Linked DNA regions of Homo sapiens: region 1 is linked to region 2. Evidence: promoter capture Hi-C in 16 types of primary human blood cells and fetal thymus (Javierre and others, 2016). All regions are on one chromosome and are shown on one strand. Each heading gives the region's core, a stretch centred on a gene start or on the middle of the fragment in contact. The rest is flanking DNA. Distances are from core to core; before and after follow the strand shown. Region 1 overlaps TATDN2 (TatD DNase domain containing 2). Region 2 holds the start of JAGN1 (jagunal vesicle mediated transporter 1).

Region 1 (5,467 bases), core at 2,478-4,977, 370 kb after region 2:
TATGATTTTTTTTTTTTTTTTTTTTTTTTTTTTTTTTTTTGGGAGATGGAGTCTTACTCTGTAGCCCAGGCTGGAGTGCAGTGGCACGATCTTGGCTCACTGCAAGCTCCGCCTCCCGGGTTCACGCCATTCTCCTGCCTCACCCTCCCGAGTAGCTGGGACTACAGGCGCCCGCCACCACGCACGGCTAATTTTTTGTATTTTTAGTAGAGACGGGGTTTCACTGTGTTAGCCAGGATGGTCTCGATGGGCCCGCCTCGGCCTCCCAAAGTGCTGGGATTACAGACATTAGCCACCGCGCCCAGCTAGGTTTATGATTGTTTTAAGTTTTATTTTCCTTTGGCCCTTGATTCAGGATAATGATTAAAAAAAAATATGATGTGCTCTTCGGAAAAAAATTTCAAATGATACAAGAAGCTTATAATATAAGCACCTAAGCCTTTGTTTGTTTGTTTGTTTGAGACAGAGTCTCATTCTCTCACCCAGGCTGGAGTGCAGTGGCATGATCTCGGCTTACTGCATCCTCCGCCTCCTGGGTTCAAGTGATTCTCCTGCCTCAGCCTCTTGAGTAGCTGGGACTATAGGCATGTGCCACCACGCCTGGCTAATTTTTGTAATTTTATTTTTATTTTGCTTCTTTTTTTTTTTTTTGAGACAGAGTTTTGCTCTTGTTGCCTGGGCTGGAGGGCAGTGGCACGATCTTGCCTCACTGCAACCTCTGCCTTCCGATTCAAGCGATTCTTTGCCTCAGCCTCCTGAGTAAGTGGGATTACAGGTGCCCGCCACCATGCCTGGCTTAAGTTTTGTATTTTCAGTAGACACAGTGTTTTGCCATGTTGGCCAGGCTGGTCTCGAACTCCTGATGTCAGGTGATCCACTTGCCTCGGCCTCCCAAAGTGCTGGGATTACAGGTGTGAGGCACTGCTCCCAGCCGAGCCTAAGTCTCTTTCTACTTCCCTGCATTCCCCAAAGAGATCCATTATAAACAGTTTAGCTTTTTAGACTTGTTTGCGAATATATACATATAAAGCAATTTTGCCTTTTTTTTTTTGAGATAGGGTCTCACTGTATTGCCTAGGCTGGAGTGCAGTGGTGCCGTCACGGCTCACTGAAACCTCTGCCTCCCAGGTTCAAGCGATTCTTGTGCCTTAGCCTCCCGTGTAGCTGGGATCACAGGCGTGTGCCACCATGGCCCAGCTAATTTTTGTAATTTTTAGTAGAGACAGAGTTTTGACACCTTGCCCAAGCTGGTCTTGAACTCCTGAGCCTAAGTGATCTTCCTGTCTTGGCCTCCCAAAGTGTTGGGATTACAGGCATGAGCCACCGCGCCCCGTGTGTTTTATAGAGATGGGGTTTCGCCATGTTGGCCAGGCTTGTCTCGACCTCCTGGGTTCAAGCAGTCCACCTGCCTCGGCTTCCCAAAGTGCTGGATTACAGGCATGAGCCACTGTACCTGGTCTGTATTTACTTTTGAGAGGAATTTAATAGAAATGACTTAGGAATGCAAATGGGATAATGGTTTACTGCTTATGGAATGGCCTTAGGAGGACATTTGTGGAGAGTTCTTACACCCGGCAGGGATTAGACTGGATTAGAATTTCACATCAAAATAGTCTGGCAAACAAAGTCTAGCTTTTTCTGTGTGGAGTCCTGGAGTGAGTGGGTGCAAGAGGGGGCTGAGGCTTCACTTCCGTCTTGGAGGAGGTTTGTTGTTGGGAGCAGTCTATCTTGACTGACCCTGGTGCAGTCACTGAGAAACTGAGGTATTTTCCAAAACCAAGTTGATTATTTGAGGGGAAGTGTTTGCAGAGAACTTTCAGGAGGCTTTGGGTATGGTGGGAAAAACACTGCACTCAGAACTGGGGGATTGGAGTTCCTGGGGCTAGCCCTTCCCCTCACTGGGTCCTCAGGTTTCCTTTACCCTTAGATATGGGATTGGGCTAGCTGGTTTCTAGGGCCCTTTCCAGTGGGAAGAGCTTGAGCTGCTGTTTTGCCTGAAGTGTAGTCCTTGCCTTCCAGGAGCTTGCAGTCTGGTTTAATGAGAGTGTTCATTTCAGCTCCTTCCGTCCCCTTGCAGTGAAAGGATATCATCTGCTGAGCATGAGAAGGCGAATGCTAAGAAATGGCAGCAATCAGCCCCTCTTACAGTGCCACTTCACCACCCGGAGAGAACCTTTGCCTTAGCCACAGTCACTTTCCCTTTGACTGGTAGAACCACCACTGATTTATAATTTGCCAAATGCTTCATGTACGAAAGTGCCCTTGGAACAGCCCTTTCAATTCTGTTTTTTTTTTCCCAGGTTGATTCCAAAGATAGTTCTCATAACTCCACAAACTCTGAATTTGCAGCTGAAGCTGAGGGTCAGAATGATACAATTGAGGAACCCAACAAGGTCCAGAAAAGGAAGAGGGATAGACTTCGAGACCAGGGCTCCACAATGATCTACCTGAAGGCTATCCAGGGCATCCTGGGGAAATCGATGCCAAAAAGGAAGGGAGAGGCTGCCACTCGGGCAAAACCAAGCGCAGCAGAGCATCCCAGCCATGGAGAAGGACCAGCCAGGAGTGAAGGACCAGCCAAGACTGCAGAAGGAGCAGCCAGGAGTGTCACAGTCACTGCTGCTCAGAAGGAGAAAGACGCAACCCCAGAGGTCAGCATGGAGGAGGATAAGACAGTGCCAGAGAGGAGCAGCTTCTATGACAGGAGAGTAGTTATAGACCCTCAAGAGAAACCCAGTGAGGAGCCCCTTGGGGACCGAAGGACTGTCATTGACAAATGCTCTCCACCCCTAGAGTTCTTGGATGACTCTGACTCTCATTTAGAAATCCAAAAGGTGAGTAAAGCTTGTACCAGGCATCTGACTTTTTAGTTCTGTTGATGAAATGTGTTCCATCTTTCTAGTTTGATCCTAAGTGTTACTAATTAAAAATAGTACTTTACTTAACCAGGCCTCCAGGGAACAAACTGATGGTTTTCTTCTAACATACTTTTCAGATTTTCAGAGTTATTAATAAACCTAAACTAAGTGCTTTTTTTTTTTTTTGAAGGATTTATATGTTAGGATATGGGTTTAGCTGCTGTGTAAAAGGCCAAAATCACAGTGGCTTAAACAGAATATAAGTTTGGCTTAAGAAGGATGGCTCCATCATGTCAGAGATACTGGTACCTTTTGTCTTGATTCTCTATCACCCCTCAACACAGTGTCCATCTCTTGGTGTGAAATGGATACTCTGATAGGACTCAGGGTTTGTTATCTGGGCATTCTGGCCAGTGGGAAGGGGAGAAGAGGAGAGTGCATTCCTTCCCTGTTAAGAGCTTGGCTCAAGAGTTGCACATGTTGTATCTGCTGTTGACAAGAGCGGGGAAACCCGGCTGACACCTGGCTGCAAGGGAGTCTGGAAAATCAGCCTTTATCTAGGCAGACTTGTACCTGGATAACCAGAGAAGAAGGGAAGGATGTCATTGGACGGAAACTAGTGATTTTTAACATAGCTTATAATTGAGGGGAAGCATTCCTCCATCTTTTTCTTTTTTTTTTTTTTTTTGTTGTTGGGACAGAGTCTTGCTCTGTTGCCCAGGCTGGAGTGCGATGGTGCAATCTTGGCTCACTGCAACCTCCACCTCCTGGGTTCAAGCAATTCTCCTGCCTCAGCCTCCTGAGTAGCTGGGATTACAGGTGTGCGCCACCAAACCGGCTAATTTTTGTATTTTTAGTAGATATGGGATTTCTCCATGTTGGCCAGGCTGGTCTCGAACTCCTGACCTCGTGATCCACCTGCCTTGGCCTCCCAAAGTGCCGGGATTACAGGCATGAGCCACTGTGCCAGGCCACATTCCTCCATCTTACTCGTCTCCACCCATCCTTTACTACTGCTCTGCAGGCAGCTTCTCTCATCTTTAGCTCTTTCTTCTAGTACTTACCCCATGTTTCTAAATAATCTTTACTGTTGATCAGTTTTTCAGTTTTAGATGTCTGAGGACTTCTTGCTTGGGCGATGAGAATTTAGTTCTCTATACCTCCTTCAGAAGCACCCACACCCAGGGACACATTAGCTTCCCCTTTCTGCAGCCTCCCTGTGTGGCTTGAATACCTTTTGGGTTAAGTCTGTGTAAGATTTGTTACTGCCATGTTCACAGCTGAGTCGCCTTGTATACTCTGATCACATTTTCTTTCTTGTAAAACTTCATTTTCCTTAAAGTTCATCATTACTTTGTTTTTCCTTTGGTTTTCCTGGTACCTTTCACTAATTAATCCCCAAACTGCGAGAGCTGTAAAATCCTTCTCAATACTGTCAAAATAAGGAATCTGTTTCTTTTTTTTCTCTCTTGGAGGTATACGTCCTCAGCCCTCTGTTGTCCTGCTCTGGTCTGGACTGCCTGCCGTCAGGCCAGCTGGCAGCTGTCTCTCTGGAGCCTCCTTCACATTTCTCCCGGATTGAGTCTTCTGCTACCTATACTCTGTGTCTTCTCATGTTCTTCTTCCTTGGTTTACTCTCACATTTTGGTGGAATACTTTTTCTAGTAGCTTCTTGAGAAAGGGTACATGGAGAAACTTTTTTTGGTAAACATGTGTCTGAGATTGCCTTTATTTTACCTTTAACCTTGATTACAAGCTTGGTTGGTTTTGGAATTCCAGGTTGGAAATTGTTTTGTTTGGGATTTTGAAGGCATTGCTCCTTTTCTTCTGGGCTTTTTTTTTTTTTTTTTTTTTTTTGAGGTGGAGTCTCGTTCTGTCTTGCCCAGGCTGGAGTGCACTGGTGTGATCTTGGCTCACTGCAGCCTCCACTTCCTGGGTTCAAGTGATTCTCCTGTCTCAGCCTCCCGAGTAGCTGGGATTACAGGCACACGCCACCACACCTGGCTAATTTTGTATTTTTGGTAGAGACAGAGTTTCATCATGTTGGCCAGGCTGGTCTCAAACTTCTGACCTGAGGTGATCCACCTGCCTAGGCTTCCCAAAGTACTGAGATTACAGGTGTAAGCCACTTCGCCTGGCCTCTTCTGGTTTTCTTGATGTCTGAAGCTATGCTGGTTCCTGAACCTTGGTATATGATTTTTTATTTTTTATTTTCTTTTGCTTTGAGACAGAGTTTTGCTCTGTCACCCAGGTTGGAGTCCAGTGGCGTGATCTCAGCTCACTGCAATCTTCACCTCCCAGGTTCAAGCGATTCTCCTGCCTCAGCCTTGTGAGTAGCTGGGATTACAGGCATGTGCCACCACACCCGGCTAATTTTTGTATTTTTAGTAGAGATGGGGTTTCACCATTTTGGTGAGGCTGGTGTCGAACTCCTGACCTCATGATCCGCCCGGCTCAGCCTCCCAAAGTGCTGGGATTACAGGTGTGAGCCACCGTGCCCAACCTGTATTTTTTTTTTTTTTCCCTCTGTGGAATCTTGTAGAATATATTTTGATCTCAGGGCTCTGAAATTTCATGGTGGTGGTGTCTACTTTGCTTAGCATGGGACA
Region 2 (4,954 bases), core at 422-2,921:
TTGAGGCACTGTGCCCCCACCTAGACCTATCTTTTAAAAATGCAAAACTGTGTCATTTTCCTGGTTAAACCTTTTAGTGGTTCCCCAAACCCCCTGGGATAAAGACTTAACTCTTTACTGAACCCTCCAAATGCTCCAGTCACTCTTAAGTTTCTCAGTTCTTTGAAGAGCCAAGTGCTCTCTGGATTTGGGGCCTTCACACATGCTGTTCCCTCTGCCTGAAAAGCTCTTCCGCTCCCCACCTCTTTAGCCAATTCCCACTCAGGCTTCAGACCTCAGCTCAATTGCTGCCACTCCAGAGAGACTTTCCTAACCCTCCAGGTCAGGGAGAGAGGCCTCATTTTTCCTCCCTCAGCCTCCTGTGTTTTCTTGAATTTCTTAGCTTCATGGGTACAAGTTCTTCCCCCGACTGGGCTGGGATCCCTCAGGGGAAATGGACCATGTTTATTTCTGCGTCCCCAGGTCATAGCAGAGCATCCTGGTGCATGGAAGATGCTCACTATACATGCTTTTTTCTTTCTTTTTTTCTTTATTCGGATAATATAACTTCTTTCTTTAAAGTTTCGCTTAGTATTTTGTTGTGGTAAAATGCACATAACATAAAACTTACTATGTTAATCATTTTTAAGTGTACAGTTTCCGTGGCATTAAGCACACACATATAGTTGTGCAATCAGTACCACCATCCATCTCCAGAACTTTTTTCATCTTCCCGAACTGAAGCTCTGTACCCATTAAACACTAGCTCCCCATTCTCTGTCCACCCCTCGAGCTTCTGGCAATGGTCATTCTACTTTGTCTCTACAGATAAAGTTTATTTGGAAATAATTTTTCTTTCATGGCCTTGACATTTTTGAAGAGTACAGTCCAGCTCTCTTCTAGACTGTCCCTCCGTCTGGATTTATGTCATTTCTTCATGATTAGATTCAGTTAGGTATTTTTGGCAGAAACATCATAGAAGTGATGCTGTGTCCTCAGTCTATTAAAAGAGGCACAAGATATCAGTTTATCTCATTATTGATCAAATTAACTGACTATATGTTTAAGGGAGACAAGCCAGATTTCCTCACTGAGAGATTCCCTGTTTCTCTTTGCAATAATTAAATGTGAGAAACTTATTTTGAGACAAAGTCTCACTCTGCACTCTGTCCCCCAGGCTGGAGTGCATTGGCACAATCTCGACTTACTGCAACCTCTGCCTCCCTGGTTCAAGCGATTCTCCTGCCTCAGCCACCCAAGTAGCTGGGGTCACAGGAACCCACCACACCTGGCTAATTTTTGTATTTTTAGTAGAGACGGGATTTCACCATGTTGCCCAGGCTGGTCTTGAACTCCTGACATCAAGTGATCCACCCACCTCGGCCTCCCAAAGTGCTGGGATTAAAGGTGTGAGGCTGTGTGAATGATGTGTGCTCCAGGGAAAGTCATAGAATATATCAGTTTCCCCCTCTGTAAAGTGTGGACAGAAGTATCCTAACTGATATTACAGCTTAAGAAAGTAAAAGTGTTCAAGCGGCCTCTGGGCGCCAGCAAAAGAGGCTGGGGATTAATTTCCTGCGCGCTCCACAAGAGGCGGGGCTGGGCGGGGCGGGGGCGAGAGGGAACGAGGGCGCCTGCGCGGAGAGGAGTGACCATAGAGTCGGTCCTCCAGAGACAGAGGGGCCGGAAGTTCTCTTCACGGAGCCGCGCGGCTGCGGGGGCGCAAATAGGGTCAGTGGGCCGCTTGGCGGTGTCGTTGCGGTACCAGGTCCGCGTGAGGGGTTCGGGGGTTCTGGGCAGGCACAATGGCGTCTCGAGCAGGCCCGCGAGCGGCCGGCACCGACGGCAGCGACTTTCAGCACCGGGAGCGCGTCGCCATGCACTACCAGATGAGGTATGAAGTGAGGCGAGGAGCACGGAGGCTTTCTCCCCCGCTGGAGCCTGCGGGGCTTGGGGAGCGACGCCGGCCCGGCCTCAGGGTCTTGCTCCCCAGCCAGCCCCCGCTCACCTGCCAAGTCCCCTCCTCCCGTGACGGCTTCGGGCCTGTCCCCCATCCTGGAAAGCCCCGTGGCCCCCGCGAGCTCCACCCCTTGTTCCGCCCGGTGCCTTGAGGGGATCCAGCCCCGCGTGGGCTCCCGCCCTGCGTGGGCTCCCGAGTCACGTCGATGCTGGCCCCGCTGTATCACCTTCGAAACCGAATTTCTAATTTGAGCCTCAGCTTCCTCATCTGTAGAGGGAGAGAATAATCTGCCTTTTAGGTTTTGGTGAAAGATTAATCAGTAATTCGTGTAAAGAAAGTAGCATAAGGCCTACCACGTAATATATGGTAGGTGTTATATTTTGGGCCGTTTGGGGGGATATAGACAGTAAAAGGCAGCCTTTCCTAAGGACGCCTTGCCTAAAATGAATTTTATAAACACTCCCACGTAAGGGGTATTTCTACATTCAATTACTAGTTCGACAAATACTGAGCTTCCAAACATCATACACTGCTAGACACTAGGTTATAATAGTGAGCAAAAGCAGACGTGGTCTTTGTATACATGTTATACCTTCAATAAACAATTTTATTAAAGAAAAAAAAAACTGTTCCCTGCCTTCATGGAGCTTGAAGTCTAGAGATGACTGTTTTTTTTTTCCAACCTTTCCACATTTTCTACAATAAATATTTTTAAATAAAAATTTTAAAATTTTTACTTCCTTAAATCCATTGATCTCTCCCAGAATGTTCTTCACATCTCTCTCTCCAGAGTTTTAAAGAATGACAAGCTCTTTGAACTCTCATTTGTTTCACATCTCTAGGCCCCGGCTGAAAGGGCCCTCACAACTTAAGCAGGTGTTTTCATGCCAGCCCAGAGTAGAAACATTGCCTTTAGGGATATGAGGAGGATACGTTTGGGACGTGAGAGAATTAGAAGAATAAGATAAGTATGTACTTCTTTTGGATGAAAAAATCTAGCTGGAGAAGTATGGGCGGCCTGAGTACGTTTCCTCTCTGCCAATACCTTCTCCCGCCAGACTTTAATCCTATGGTGCAGTCAGCGTCCTCTTGCTAAACACAGCTCTGAGCTACCCTTCTGCCTTTATTATTATTATTAATTTATTTATTTATTTTTGAGACGGAGTCACGGTCTGTCGCCCAGGCTGGAGTGCAGTGGCGCGATCTCAGCTCACTTGTAAGCTCCGCCTCCCGGGTTCACGCCATTCTCAGCCTCAGCCTCCCGAGTAGCTGGGACTACAGGCGCCCGCCACCACGTGCTGCTAATTTTTTTGTATTTTTAGTAGAGACAGGGTTTCACCGTGTCAGCCAGGATGGTCTCGATCTCCTGACCTCGTGATCTGCCCGCCTCGGCCTCCCAAAGTGCTGGGATTACAGGCGTGAGCCACCGCGCCCAGCCCTGCCTTTTTATTAGTAGTATTGTTGTTGTTTTTTTTTTTTATGGAGATGGGGTCTCATTTTGTTGCCAGGCTGGTCTCGAACTCCTGGGCTCAAGCAGTCCTCCTGCTTCAGCCTACCAAAGTGCTTGGATTAGAGTTGTGAGCCCAGCCTCTTCTACTTTTAACTCTCATAGTCTTTGTGATTCATATCCCACTACCCCTCTCCCCCTAACAATATGTTCCTGCCACACATAACCACTTGCTTTCCTGGAACACAAATACTTGGGCCTTTTTGTCTGCATGCTCCTGCATGGGATGCCCATCTTCACTCATTCCTGAGCCTAGTTCAGATATCACCTGCCTCTAGATAGCCATCTCTGACATTCCATGCCAGGCAGAGTTGATTCCTCCTTCCTGTGATCCCATATATCTGGGAACATATATTTACTAGAACTTTTTCACTTCATTTTCTAATTACTTTTTCCTCCTCTGTTCTTTGTGTCCGGCTTCTAGGCTGTTTTATTCAAATTTGTATCCCAGTGTCCAGTACAGTTGTCTGGCATATAGTTGGTGGTAAGAAAAATTTGAAAGATACTTCTCCCTCTGCTCTGCCCCACAGTGTGACTCTCAAGTATGAAATCAAGAAGCTGATCTACGTACATCTGGTCATATGGCTGCTGCTGGTTGCTAAGATGAGCGTGGGACACCTGAGGCTCTTGTCACATGATCAGGTGGCCATGCCCTATCAGTGGGAATACCCGTATTTGCTGAGCATTTTGCCCTCTCTCTTGGGCCTTCTCTCCTTTCCCCGCAACAACATTAGCTACCTGGTGCTCTCCATGATCAGCATGGGACTCTTTTCCATCGCTCCACTCATTTATGGCAGCATGGAGATGTTCCCTGCTGCACAGCAGCTCTACCGCCATGGCAAGGCCTACCGTTTCCTCTTTGGTTTTTCTGCCGTTTCCATCATGTACCTGGTGTTGGTGTTGGCAGTGCAAGTGCATGCCTGGCAGTTGTACTACAGCAAGAAGCTCCTAGACTCTTGGTTCACCAGCACACAGGAGAAGAAGCATAAATGAAGCCTCTTTGGGGTGAAGCCTGGACATCCCATCGAATGAAAGGACACTAGTACAGCGGTTCCAAAATCCCTTCTGGTGATTTTAGCAGCTGTGATGTTGGTACCTGGTGCAGACCAGGCCAAAGTTCTGGAAAGCTCCTTTTGCCATCTGCTGAGGTGGCAAAACTATAATTTATTCCTGGTTGGCTAGAACTGGGTGACCAACAGCTATGAAACAAATTTCAGCTGTTTGAAGTTGAACTTTGAGGTTTTTCTTTAAGAATGAGCTTCGTCCTTGCCTCTACTCGGTCATTCTCCCCATTTCCATCCATTACCCCTTAGCCATTGAGACTAAAGGAAATAGGGAATAAATCAAATTACTTCATCTCTAGGTCACGGGTCAGGAAACATTTGGGCAGCTGCTCCCTTGGCAGGCTGTGGTCTCCTCTGCAAAGCATTTTAATTAAAAACCTCAATAAAGATGGCCCTGCCCACACTGTGCCTTGTGTTTGGGGCTTGATAGAGTGTGAAAGGTGT

Evidence for each region. The method cuts DNA at HindIII sites, captures the fragments that hold promoters and counts their contacts. A CHiCAGO score of 5 or more calls a contact.
Region 1: a contact is called between a fragment that was not itself captured here and the fragment with the promoter of JAGN1 in region 2, in 7 of 17 cell types (naive CD8 T cells, naive B cells, monocytes and 4 more). The highest score is 8.6, in naive CD8 T cells.

The regions. Positions count from the first base shown.
Region 1 is chr3:10,257,837-10,263,303 of GRCh38, forward strand. It overlaps TATDN2 (TatD DNase domain containing 2), which reads left to right. Exons shown (of 8, transcript NM_014760.4): 3 at 2,301-2,834. Among named protein-coding and RNA genes, the nearest start is that of TATDN2, 12 kb to the left of the region's middle. The HindIII fragment of the contact is 1,770 bases long and covers 2,843-4,612 here.
Region 2 is chr3:9,888,939-9,893,892 of GRCh38, forward strand. It overlaps JAGN1 (jagunal vesicle mediated transporter 1), which reads left to right and starts at 1,672. Exons shown (of 2, transcript NM_032492.4): 1 at 1,672-1,873; 2 at 3,977-4,954. The coding sequence starts at 1,785. The coding sequence ends at 4,439. The HindIII fragment of the contact is 18,772 bases long and covers 1-4,954 here.